Linked DNA regions of Homo sapiens: regions 2 and 3 are each linked to region 1. The links are contacts of gene promoters, found by promoter capture Hi-C in blood cells and fetal thymus (Javierre and others, 2016). All regions are on one chromosome and are shown on one strand. Each heading gives the region's core, a stretch centred on a gene start or on the middle of the fragment in contact. The rest is flanking DNA. Distances are from core to core; before and after follow the strand shown. Region 1 holds the start of ME3 (malic enzyme 3). Region 2 has its middle 60 kb from the start of CCDC81. Region 3 overlaps ME3 (malic enzyme 3).

The links. Contacts are between HindIII fragments. The CHiCAGO score rates a contact against its expected background, and 5 or more counts as called.
Region 2: a fragment that was not itself captured here is called in contact with the fragment with the promoter of ME3 in region 1 in 1 of 17 cell types (endothelial precursors); the score reaches 5.3 in endothelial precursors.
Region 3: a contact is called between a fragment that was not itself captured here and the fragment with the promoter of ME3 in region 1, in 1 of 17 cell types (endothelial precursors). The highest score is 7.7, in endothelial precursors.

The regions. Positions count from the first base shown.
Region 1 is chr11:86,670,046-86,674,482 of GRCh38, reverse strand. It overlaps ME3 (malic enzyme 3), which reads left to right and starts at 1,867. Exons shown (of 15, transcript NM_001161586.3): 1 at 1,867-2,159; 2 at 2,525-2,721. The coding sequence starts at 2,539. The HindIII fragment of the contact is 7,449 bases long and covers 984-4,437 here.
Region 2 is chr11:86,432,547-86,436,983 of GRCh38, reverse strand. It overlaps the pseudogene PTP4A1P6 and a transcript of ME3 not described here. Among named protein-coding and RNA genes, the nearest start is that of CCDC81, 60 kb to the right of the region's middle. The HindIII fragment of the contact is 1,255 bases long and covers 1,493-2,747 here.
Region 3 is chr11:86,475,766-86,480,202 of GRCh38, reverse strand. The region is part of intron 7 of ME3 (malic enzyme 3); the gene reads left to right. Among named protein-coding and RNA genes, the nearest start is that of CCDC81, 100 kb to the right of the region's middle. The HindIII fragment of the contact is 2,351 bases long and covers 1,368-3,718 here.

The DNA.
Region 1 (4,437 bases), core at 618-3,117:
AAGAACAAACACACACACAAAACAACATTGTAGAATTATGCCTGGGTTAAGAGAATATAGGCCACAGGTGAGGACATGTAAGAGACTTTTATATGTAAACTGTACAAGCTTTAGTGAATTGATGCTATAAAAATTATGTTCGCTTGTTTGGAAACCTTTGTTGTTTACATCCTGGTTTCAAATGACTAAAGTTACCTATTAGATATCCTCCAGGGGAGGGAAAGGTCATTGTATTCAGCAAGGGCAAACTGGTTCAACAATCAATTTCCAAATATTTGCATGCACTAGATACCAAAGATGGAAACACACATGATCTCTGCCCCCCAAAGATGTTGACTGGTGGGAAGAAGTGCCAATATAAAAATAGTGTTGAAAGGATTTAGTTAATACTATTGGTTGCACACAATCACACATCTGACACAAACTGGTTTAAGGCAGAAAAAAAGATCATTTATAAGCTTATGTAAATATGCAGTCCAAGAGTAAACCTGACTTCAGGGATGTAAACCCTACTGGATGAGAATCTTCATGGATGGGGCCTGGAAAGCTGTATTTTTGCCCCATCCTTATTTCCTACCAGGTAATTGTAATTCTGTTTTGGAAATAACTATTTTACGTAGATCATTCAAGTTGAAAATTAGATATTACACAGGGAGGAGAGAGACTGCAGGAGGAGACGATTATTCCTGAAGGGATGAGGGAATCCTGAACTCAGGCAGGAGCACCCCTTAGCACATTATGGGCCATGATGTCTGCTTGGTACTTACAACGGGGCTAATGCTGGCACCGGGAGCTTTGAAGGGGTGTCAGCAGAGGACCGTGCCAACTGTCTGTCAGTAAGTCTAAGGGTTCACGATCCTTATGAAAGTGGCTGCCACTTCCCTTCACCTAACAACTATTTATTGTGCAACTACATACCAGGCAGTGAGCTAGGCAGTGAGGACACACAGGTTCACAGGCAAAGAGCCTCTCTTCATGAAGCTTACATTCTAGACAGGAGATAGTCAGTAAACAATCAGAAAAACAAGCGCGCTACTGACTGTGTTAAGTTCTCTAAAGAGAAAAACCCCTTCACTCTATAGTTCCTAGTGCAGGCTGACATTGAATGGGATAGAGGAAAGGCCTTCGAGTTGACAACTTAGTGGAGAACTGAGAGGTGGGAATGAAGTAGTGGTTTGCAAGGCTGGAGTATGAGCCTTCCAAGGAGAGGCAATAGCAAGTGCAAAGGCCCTGCAGTGGGAGGGAACCAAGTGGGGTGAAGACACAGGAAGGATCAAGTATGGCCAGAGATCAGTGAGAAGGAAAGAGTAGAGTAGGATAAGTCTGAAGAGGCTGGCAAGAGCCAGTTTATGGGAAATCTTGTAGGCCCTGAAAGTTTGGATTTTATTCCACACACAACAAAGTGTTTGCTTTAAAAGGAATCTCCTGACTACTGTGTGGAGAAAGTATAAAATTAAGTTTGGGGCTAGATGGACCCCAAGATCCCTGTCTGGCCCCAATAACCCATGGCAAACTCCATGGGGTCCTCAGAAGTCCTCTTAGTAACTGTGGCTCCTATGTCAATGATGCTTAATAGAAGTATCCGCAAAAACAGAAATGTTCTGTATCTGCATACAAGTGGCTCTTGAACTGGAAATGTGGCTAGCGTGACTGCAGAACTGGATGTTAAATTTTATTCTATATAGACTAATTTATTTACGTTTATATAGCCACACGTGGCGAATGGCTATTATATTGGACAGCACAAGGCAACACTGAGCACCGAATGCCTGAGGATTTCTACTCCAAATCCTGAAGGCACGCCCTTCCCCGAATGTTGGGAGAGTGCGAGGATATGCTGACCCCCAAACGCAAATCCCCCTCTGTGCATTTAGTCTTGCCAAGATGGAGAGTCTCAGGCGGGCATTCTGAGCTGCTTCTTGTCACTGGGGAAAACCACGTGCACGCAGTGCTGAGGCGCCCCACGCGCGTCCTCAGGGGAAGCCAGGCACTGAGAACAAAGGTTGTGGGACCGCTCTTTGAGGAACTCACCAGCTCCGCGAGCTCGCGGCCGCCAGCGCGGTCCACCCATTGGCGGGAGAGGACTCACAGACCGCAGCTCCTCACCCCGCCTGCTCCGCAGCGGGACCGCGTAGACCTCAGCTCCCCGAGCAGCGCAGGTGGGCCAGGGAAGGAGAGGACCGAGGCAAGCCACCACGCGGGATTAGGGGTACGGGGACCCCTCGCCGCGCAGTCGCCTCTTTTTCACAGGGATGGGGGCAGGGGTGGCGCCGGCTGTCACCCGCACCGGATCTGCTTCCAGGGCTTGGTTTCGCTTTGCCTGGCTCTTGGCTAGGCCTGGCGCCCCGCGCGGAGCCGAGCAGGTGGCAGCCGAGGAGTGGCGGGGGCTGGAACATTTAACCCTTTGGGAGCACCTGCCCTCTCCCAGAGGGCGCGTCCCCGGATCAGGCCCGGTGCCCCGCAGCGCGCGTGGGTCCTGGCTGGCTGGAAGGAGGCCCTGACCTTGCTTTCTCTCCCGTGCCAGGTCTGCCAAGGACCATGGGTGCCGCGCTGGGGACAGGCACGCGGCTGGCTCCCTGGCCGGGCCGGGCCTGCGGCGCCCTCCCGCGCTGGACACCCACCGCGCCCGCCCAAGGCTGCCACTCCAAGCCTGGCCCGGCGCGCCCTGTGCCCCTGAAGAAGCGCGGATACGATGTCACCAGGAACCCTCATCTCAACAAGGTAATGGGCCAGAGGGCAGGACGGCCCGCGTTGCGATCCCGTGGCTGCCGGAAAATTGCGCCCCGCCCCCTGGACCCAGAAAGGATCCTCCCGGGCGCCCTTCCAGCGGTTTTTCTGTTTTTGCCTTGCAGGGGCTTGTTGTGACTTGGTTTGGCTTTCTTGTCCCTCCTCTCCCTTTTATGCGTGGAGAGAGGCGACCAGTAATGCAGGGAGCCTAATTTCTTCTGCAGTAACAACACAGACCAGGTTTAGATCCTCGCGGTCAGTCTGACCTGCGGTCAGCTCTCCCCTTGATGCTTACTAATTTTATTGGTCTTGGGCAGTTCATTTAACCTACATGAGCCTAGGTTTCCTTATCTGTAAAAGAGATATAATTGTCTTAGGAATGTCGTGAGATCTAAAGAGAAAATGCGGGTAGAAAATGGGGGTACGTTAGAACAGTGCCTGGTACCCAGTGGGAGAATAAATAAGGTTATGATTATTATTCTGAGAAAAAGATTAATTTGAGAGCAAGGATGGAAAAGTCTAGACTTATAGAAATTTTCGAGCTTGCAGGAGCATTAGAGATCCTAGTTTAAACCTCTTCTTTTACAAAAAACAAGACAAAGGAAACTTGCCCAAGGTCACCAGCTAGTTAGTTCTGGCTCTGCCACTGGAATCCAGATCTCCAATGCTTTGGTCGAGTTCAACCCACCGCTAGCTCTTTTGTATTTGTTTTTGGGAATAGAGTTTAGTATCTTTGGTTCAGAGGATTGGGTGAGAGAAATAGAAGCAAGGACAGATTTAGTCCTGTCTCCCCCTACCTCCTCAAATTAACTCACATATCTCATTTAACTTATCTGAGGCCCAACTTTCTCCAGCCTAAAATAGATATTATGATAGACCCACCATTTCTATCTCATTTGGTTATTGTGACAATAAAATGAATCACTGAACTTGAAATCATATTTTAAACTGTATAAAGTGCTGAATAACAATTACTGCAAAATAAATTTTTTTTTCATAATTGCTCTGACTCTGGATTGTGAAATTCAGGTGAGGCAGTCTGTATGGAAAAGATGTTTTTGAGAAGTAGGAACAACTATATAATGTGAAGTATTGTGACTGTTTCCTACAGAACTAATAGAAGCGGCTAAGGAAAAAAAAATCAAAATCAACCTCTATCACATTGGAGTCCTGCTCTTTCCAAAAGAAACCTTAAATTGTTTGGACGCTACCACTTTCCAAAGTGTTCAAGGTGTTTGTTATCACCTTGAATTACTTTGCTAGTAAGCGTTAGAAAATACAAACTGGCTTAAGCACACAAAGGCTCCTTTATCTAAAGAATCTAGAGGAAGGGTTGCAGGCACGGCTTGAACCACAAGCCCAGATGGCATTGCTCAAGATGCAGATTCTCTCTGGCTCTCTACTCTGCCTCTCTGCAAGGTCAGTTTCATCCTCAAGCTCTATTCAGTGAAGTCTCTCACTTCGTTATTGCCACAGTCCTCCATCTCCTGTTCTCACACCACATCATCCAGGAATAGAAAGATACTTTTATTCTGGTAGCTCTTGGGGAAGAGAAAATACCCTTTCTCTGACGCCTCAGAAAGCGAATCCTTCTGCCTTATTGACTCTGATTAGATTCTCTCTTCCCATTCCCAAACCAAAACCAATCACCAGTAATTAAAGCCGGTCAGAGCCCACCCCTGGAGTTAAAATGGGGTTTAAGGTAGGGCC
Region 2 (4,437 bases), core at 871-3,370, 240 kb after region 1:
CAACATATCCATGTAACAAAACTGCACTTGTACACCTTAAATTTATACCAAAAAAGGACTGTGTGGTCATATAAATAAATGAAGCAGAACTGAGAGTTCACAAATAAGTTTTTACCTTTATGGCAAATTGATCATCAATTTTAATCAAATTTACTAATTTAATCAAAATTACTAAGGTAATTCATTGGGGGAAAGAGAGTCTTTTGAACAAATTGTGCTGAAACAATTGAATATCCACATGCAAAAAAAAGTTAACTTAGACACCTCACACTAAACACAAAAATTAACCTTTACACATCTCAAACCAAACAAAAATCAACCTGAAATGGATCACAGACCTAAATGTGAGAGCTAAAACTGTAAAATTTCTAAGATAAAATATAGCAGAATATCTTTATGACTTAGGTTGAGGAGAGTTCTGAGATACAACTTTAAAAGCATGATTCATAAAAGAAATAAATTGTACTTCATCAAAATTTAAAATTTTGCACTTTGAAACACTTTTTTTTGGGAGGGAAAAAGACAAGCAGCAGACTGGGAGAAAATAATTGCAAATCATATATCTGACGAAGACACTGGATCCGGAATATATAAAGAACTACTTCAACTTAATAAGAAGATGACAATTCAAATTTTAAAATGAGAAAAATATTTAAATCAGCATTTTATCCAAAAAGATAGGTGAATGGCTAACAAGCACATGAAAAATGTTTAACATTATTAGTAATAAGAAAATTAAAACCACAATGGCATAACAACACTCACCAGAATGGCTATAATAAAAAAAAAAGATCTGTTGGTAAGAATGTGGAGAACTTTGTCTCCTAAGCACTATTAGATTAAGGGAGAGTTCCCTTGCCTTGTAAGTCTTCACTCTAACTCCCCAGCCTCCCATACATAGCCCCAGTATTCAGCAAGTGTCATTTAAGAGAGTGGATGCTGTGGTTGCACCACCTAGATCCTGCCTTGGGTCTGAAACACTCATTCCTCCAGATGCCATTGTCAGCTGAGGGCCACCAGCTGCATCGCTCTCTAGGAATTGCCCTCGACTGAAGGTGAATGCTTCACCCAAGATTATGCCATCATCCCCAAGGGAAGCCTACAGGCAATGACTGGTTGATTCAAGGGCCCAAAGGCCAGATTCCTAGCCTCAATTGAGAACATCTCTAAATAGCCATCCCATCCTCAGAGCTCCCTATGAGACTGGCTGAGGCTACTGTTGCAACTGCTATGTATCACCATTCAACTTCTTATGCCCTATCCTGTTTCTCTTGCTCCCCCATAGATGTTCTCTGAGAAGACACCCCAGTAATCCTCTGGATGCGAATCTCAGATTCAGTGTCTATTTCCTGAGGAACCCAACTTATAACACGTAGAAGAAACTGGCCAAAGTTCTTAATTTTCCAATTTGTTGCACCAGCCCCACGTGACCACCAAAAGCTTTTCTGGGTTTCCCTTTCCCTCAGGAGAGACCCTCTTCACAGACCAAGCTTGATCCTTATTAGTCCATGTCCAGAATCAGTAAATGTCCCTAGAAAATAAAATGGCCACTTACCTCAGGAGGACTCCTCCCTCTCTGGAATTCCCATTCACCTAGTCCTTATTGCTTTCATAGCTCTCACATATCTTTAAATATGATCTTTATAATTTTTCCATCTTTTTCTAGTTGTTGCAGGCAAAGTTTTAGGCTGCCATGACCTACTATATCCTATTTAGAAGTGGAAGTCTCTAGAGAGATTTTCAAAATTACAGATGTGTGGATATTAGCTTTTCTCCTAATTTAATTGAATTGTGGTGAGAGAAGGTGTTCTGTATTATTCAAATAGCTTAAAATTTGCTGAAATGGGTTTATAATCAAATATATGGTCAAATTTAATAGTTCATGTACTCTTATAAATATGTATTCTCCCATTGTTGGATGCAATGCCCTTTGTATGTTCATGGGATCAAGTTTGTTGACTGTTTTGTGTAAATCTATATGCAAAATCTTGATTTTTGTCTACTTGATCTGCTTCTGAAAGAGGAACAATAAAACTTCCCACTGCTACGGTAAACTTGCCAATTTTCCTTGTAATTCTGTCCATATTTGCTCTATTTACCTTGGACCAATGCATCTTTACCTTTTAACAAACACTTACTAAATTAAAAGTCCTAGACCATATGTTCTGCACAAGATCAAAACAACATTTTACTAGAAATATTTCATAGTCTCCTCTCATTCTGTCTTCAGGGCCCTCTGTGTTAAGTTACACCCCAACCGTAAACATTAACGGTAAGGCCTTTTTATTTGAAGACATTCAACACATGTGCTTCTGTACAACATGGATTTTGCATGAACTTTCAATCAGATGTCGATTTTTCAAAATGGAGGTTTTCATAACAAAATGAGATTAGACAAAGACATCAAATAACCACAAGATGTGTAAAGAATCCAACAAAATCACCTGTTGGACAAACCTGATGTATACTGGGACCCGTGTAGGATGGTAAACATGAAGCAGGCAAATAATCATATAGGCCCTACTTGCAGTGTTTGATATGACTTAAGGGATGAGCTACATAAAGTTATAGTTCCTGGAGTTTTAATTCTGTATGATACTAAAAATATACAAATTTTGTGCTGGGGATCTTGGCATCTAATCTCTAGATTTCTTATGTATTTTTTCTGGCATAGGAATAGCACTAAGCCAAACATAGAAGTTGCATTTCTGTTAAATTCGTGGCTTTTTGATATCCCTATGGAAGCTTCATCAGACTTATTCACTAAGCCCATATGTTGGCTAAAATGTACAATAAATTAGGTCTTTTCTCAAGTCCCACTTTCAAGGCAATAGCATCAGGCAGCCAGGTTTATTGAATACAACAGTTGTTTCTGTGACCACTGGAGTCTTTGAAGCTGAGAGGTGACAGCGTGCTGGCAGCCCTCACAGCCCCTGCTCACTCTCAGCGCCTCCTCGGCCTTGGTGCCCACCCTGGCCACGCTTGAGGAGCCCTTCAGCCCGCCACTGCACTGTGGGAGCCCCTTTCTAGGCTGGCCAAGGCCAGAGCTGGCTCCCTCAGCTTGCAGAGAGGTGTGGAGGGAGAGGCGCAAGCGGGAACCGGGGCTGCGCCCGGCGCTTGTGGGCCAGCTGGAGTTCCGGGTGGGCATGGGCTTGGCGGGCCACGCACTCAGAGCAGCCGGCCAGCCCTGCCGGCCCCAGGCAATGAGGGGCTTAGCACCCGGGCCAGCAGCCACGGAGGGTGTACTGGGTCCCCCAGCAGTGCCAGCCCACCAGCGCTGTGCTCGATTTCTCGCCAGGCCTTAGCTGCCTCCCCGCGGGGCAGGGCTCGGGACCTGCAGCCTGCCATGCCTGAGCCTCCCCACCTCCGTGGGCTCCTGTGCGGCCCGAGCCTCCCCGATAAGCGCTGCCCCCTGCTCCATGGCGCTCAGTCCCATCGACCACCCAAGGGCTGAGGAGTGCAGGCGAACGGCGCGGGACTGGCAGCCAGCTCCACCTGCGGCCCCGGTGCGGGATCCACTGGGTGAAGCCAGCTGGGCTCCTGACTCTGGTGGGGACTTGGAGAACCTTTATGTCTAGCTCAAGGTTTGTAAACACACCAATCAGCACCCTATGTCTAGCTCAGGGTTTGTGAATGCACCAGTTGACACTGTATCCAGCTACTCTGGTGGGGACCTGGAGAACCTTTATGTCTAGCTAAGAGATTGTAAATACACCAATCGGCAGTCTGTATCTAGCTCAAGGTTTGTAAACACACCAATCAGCACCCTGTGTCTAGCTCAGGGTTTGTGAATGCACCAATCTACACTCTGTATTTAGCTAATCTAGTGGGGACATGGAGAACTTTTGTGTCTAGCTCAGGGATTGTAAATGCACCAATCAGCACCCTGTCAAAACGGACCAATCAGCTCTCTGTAAAATGGACCAATCAGCAGGGTGTGGATGGGGCCAGATAAGAGAATAAAAGCAGGCTGCCCCAGCCAGCGGTGGCAACCAGCTAGGGTCCCCTTCCACGCTGTGGAAGCTTTGTTCTTTTGCTCTTTGCAATAAATCTTGCTGCTGCTCACTCTTTGGGACCACACTACCTTTACGAGCTGTAACACTCACCACAAAGATCTGCAGCTTCACTCCTGAAGCCAGCAAGACCACGAACCCACCAGGAGGAACGAACAACTCCAGACGCACCGCCTTAAGAGCTGTAACACTCACCACGAAGGTCTGCAGCTTCACTCCTGAGCCAGCGAGACCACGAACCCACCAGAAGGAAGAAACTCCGAACACATCCGAACATCAGAAGGAACAAACTCCGGACACGCCGCCTTTAAGAACTGTTAACACTCACCGCGAGGGTCCGCAGCTTCATTCTTGAAGTCAGTGAGACCAAGAACCCACCAATTCCGGACACAAAGCGAAGCCGCATTTGAGAATGATATTTCTC
Region 3 (4,437 bases), core at 1,294-3,793, 190 kb after region 1:
CCAGTGCTTCTGAATAATGACTACATATCCAACATTCTACTAGGCACTGTAATGAGATTCAAAAGAAATAAAAGACATCAGCTAGGCCAGGCGCGGTGGCTCATGCCTACAATCCCAGCAATTTGGGAGGCCAAGGCAGGTGGATCACTTGAGGTCAGGAGTTCAAGACCAGCCTGGCCAACATGGCGAAACCCCATCTGTACCGAAAATACAAAAAAAAATTAGCCAGGTACAGTGGCACACACCTGTAATCTCAGCTACTCAGGAGGCTGAGGCATGAGAATTGCTTGAACCCAGGAGGTGGAGGTTGCAGTGAGCTGAGATGGCACCACTGCACTCCAGCCTGGGCGACAGAGTGAGATTCCATCTCAAAAAAAAAAGAAAGAAAAAAAGACATCAGCTGTGTCTTCAACAACCTTACAGTCCTTCCAAGAAGACATTTTTGAATAGAAAATAATTAGGGAAGACTTCAGTACCCAACTATTTGGTGTTGACCCTCAGTTCAATGGAAATTCAGAGAAAGGGACAATCAGGGATGATTGGGAAGAAATGGAAGTTGTACAAATTTAGGACCGAATTCAAGTAAGCAGCAGGAGAAAAAATGATGTTCCATATAGAAGGTACATCATGAGAAAAGCAAGAACACAGGAAAAGCAATGAATATACAGGGAAGGCAATGAGTATCTACAAGAATGGGCCAACTAAAAATGAATGTTCAGTGATTTTAAATAAGGTTAAATAAGAATGGTGCTGGCTACATCTATTATTTAGGTTTCTCCAGAGTAACAGAACCAATAGGATATTAGGTATTTAGATACTTGAGAGTGGATTTATTATGAGAAGTGGCTAACGTGATGATGGAGGTAAAGAAATCCCATGATATGGTGTCTGCAAGCTGGAGAACCAGGGAAACTGGTGGCATAGCTCAGTATAAATCCAAAGTGGGGCCGCTGGTGCACATCCTGGAGTCAGAAGGCCAAAGAGCCTGGAGTTCTGATGCTCAAGGGCCGGAGAAGATGGGTGTTCCAAATTCAGAAGAGAGAACGAATTCACCCTTCCTCTGCCTTTTTGTTCTATCTGAGCCATCAACCAACTGGATGGTGCCTGCCCATATGGGGTGAGGGTGAATCTTCCTTATTCAATTTACTAATACAAATACCAGTCTCTTCCAGAAACACCCTCACAAACATACCCAGAAATAATGCTTTACCAGCTATCTGAGTATCCCCTAAACCAGCCAAGTTGACACCTAAAATTAACCATCACACTAAGATAGGCCTTGCAATCCAGGCAGAAGGTCATGATTATGAGAGCTCAAAAGTGGAAGGGGCTACAGTCATCTAATGCAGTGGTTTTTAAACCAAGCTTCCCTGGGCCCCAGGACTCCAAAGAAGCATATCAGGAGTGCTAGAAATGAAATACTTTCCACCAACCATAAAAAATGTAAACCACTTGAGGAAACACTTTATTGTTTTTCATTGCCTTCTATATCTGGTTTCTGCTCAATATTTTATTAAAGAATTATTCTGCAAAAAATGTTTGAAAATTACCAATCCACAAAATACCTTATTTGAGACTTGATGTAGTGAGCAATAGGGAGGCATGGTAGGTTCTTGAGCAACAAAAGTATTGTATTAAAATTGACAAGATGTGGGAAGAGATTAGAGGCAGAACCCATAACAATGCCCCAATTCAAATTCTGCCTTCCCTAGGGAAATCTACTCTGACCAGCCTGGCCTGATACTCTTGCCCTGACTGTAATCTTACTGGCTGTAGAATTCATTTGCTAATTAATTAATCATGCACTGCATTGTGACATCTCTGCTAAAATGGCCTATTGCTTTTCTTTAACCTTTTTTTTTTTTTTTTTTTTTTTTTGGTCCTTAGGCTTTCATTGTCAGAGGAGAGATTGGGCAAAGATGAGTCTGGACTGTTGTAGAAGGGTTCAAGAACTGGCGTGGATGGCCTTTATAGATCATTCCTATCTCAGGGCCTATGACTCAGTAACATCTCTACCAATGGTAGTTCCTAGGAAGCGTGGCTTTACTCGTGCAGTAAATGGTGAGGGTGGGAGTTGGTTGATTGGTGGGTGGTCAAAAGTCCACACCAGGCTAGCTACCAATTAGAATAGACTGAAGGCTATGAATCTGACCACATCTGAGGAAGCACAGAGGAAGGAAATTTGACACTCATTCTGGCTTGTCTTGACTCTGAAGGAGCAGAACAGTTTCCCAGTTTCAGCCTGATATGGCTCATTGTTGACAGTCCAGCTCCCCCATGTTCTCAGAAGAACAACAGCCAGATTTTGCATGGTGACAAACTCCTATGCATGCAAGGAATCTGTCCTGGGTCACAGGCTAGGAGACTATCAAAATGCATACTAGCACCCAACTCTCTAGGACATTTTCACTTCCATCGCACCAAGCAGACTGCATAATTGAGTGAGTTTGCAGTTCACTAGTTAAGGTCCAGCCTCAGGACTGAGGCCAAAATGTGCTGGAAGAAACTCACTGCCTCGGGATATGATTCAATGACACTAGCTGGCTATTTCCTTTTCATTTTCTCTTAGCAGCCTGATTTTATCGCTTGGTATCAAGAATAGGAACAAAATCATCCCCAGAACTGAAACTTTTAGATTATGGCAGAAGAGATGAAGGAATATAAGGGTCTTATGGGTGGCGGGGAGCAGGGATCTGATCCCTTTCAATGAATAAGTACCAATAATAACAATAATAACTCTTAATTATTTAATTGCTTACCATAAGCAGACACTGATACAAGCACTTCACACAATATTAACTTGTCTAATTCTCACAACAACTGTATGAGTTAGGTACTATTCACTTTATTTTAAGAGATGAAGAAACTGAAGTTTACAAAGTACAAGTACCTCATCTAAGAAAGGGGAGCCTGATTAAGACCCTACCCACTAACTGCAATTGTTAAAAGCACGAATTCTAGAGCTAGACTGCCTGAGTTCCAATCTCTTATTAACAAGCTACTTATTAACACTTATCAACGAGTGACTTAATTCATCTGTGCCTCAGTTTCCTCCTCTCTAAAATGCATTTTTAAGACTGGGAGAGTACTTATGATGGATAAATGAGGCCATCCATGTAAAATGTTTAACATACACCTGAGTGATAGTAAAAAAATCATGTTTGCTATTATTATTAATTTAGGCAGTTTCCAAAGCCATTCTCCTTTAGGCAGTGCTTCACTGTGCCCACATTCACGCATTCATGTTTGAGTTAATATATCCATTCACATGTCCAACACTGCTGTCCACAGTCCCTCACCCATCCCTCCCCTTCATTCCAATATTACTTTTCCTCTCTTCCCCAGTGCTAAACCTAGGAAGGAAAAAACAAAAACAAAAATGAAACAGCCCTAGGTGTGATCCATTTCCATTTTAGATCCCTGGTATGTGCAATTAGTAAATGCTTGGTCTTCATCCCCACCCCCAACACAGACCTATTCAGTTTTGCTCTCCCTCCTCCAGTGGACGGTGTTGTGTAGATTCATGTGTACATAGAGGGGAGCAGTATGGTCCGTGTGTTCCTGAGGGTGAGGTGTTCTTATATTTTTTTGCAGCTGTTTGAAGCTGAGTGTTACTTGGGCCTTTCAAACTCACCACTCAGAGTCAGTCACCCCCTCAAGTAACCAAACATCTTTTCATGAGACACAGTTCTCTGTACAGAAATGAGAAACAGAAGCTTGCCCAAGAGAAAGCTGCAAAATTGCTCTGAGATCACCCACTGATACTGACCTATTCAGAGGCTCCACATATAGAAGCCTTGTACTTTGCCCTCAGAGCTGGAAGGATGCCTTTGATGGCTCCAACTCCCACCCCTGTTCCTGCCGCTCCTTAAATGTGTTGTCTCTGTTACAGAGGCAGAGCCTTCGTGCTCGCTATTTTCCCAGCCTTGAATGTCCTTTCATTTTCAGGGCTGTTTCCATCTCATCATTCAGGCCTGCAGATAGGTCCACAGCAGGCAAGGTCAAGTGTGGAGGTCTGTACAAGACAGGATGTTAGAACTGAGCGTCCTGCCAAAAGCTTAGCTGAGGTTCTGTAGCTCCAAGCTTCTCCTGTTGGTTTTAACACAACATATGCAAAGAAAAATCCCTAGGCATATAGCATCCAGACTACAAAGGAAGTTAATGAGGATTTTATGTTAATTTTAAAAGATTGTGAAAAGCTGTTAGGTCTAAGCCCCGATTGCAATGTTTCACAGGGGTGTTCACATTCTGAGTCCCTCTCAGCATAGAGGGTCACTGCTCTCTCTCTCTCTCTTTCTCTTTCTCTCTCTCTCTCTCTCTCTCTCTCTATATATATATATATATATATATACTGAATATTAGGAATGCCTTCTGTGGTTCAGTCTGTATCTTAGAATTCTCATTTTCTCACTGGATCCAGCCTAGGACTTTAATCTT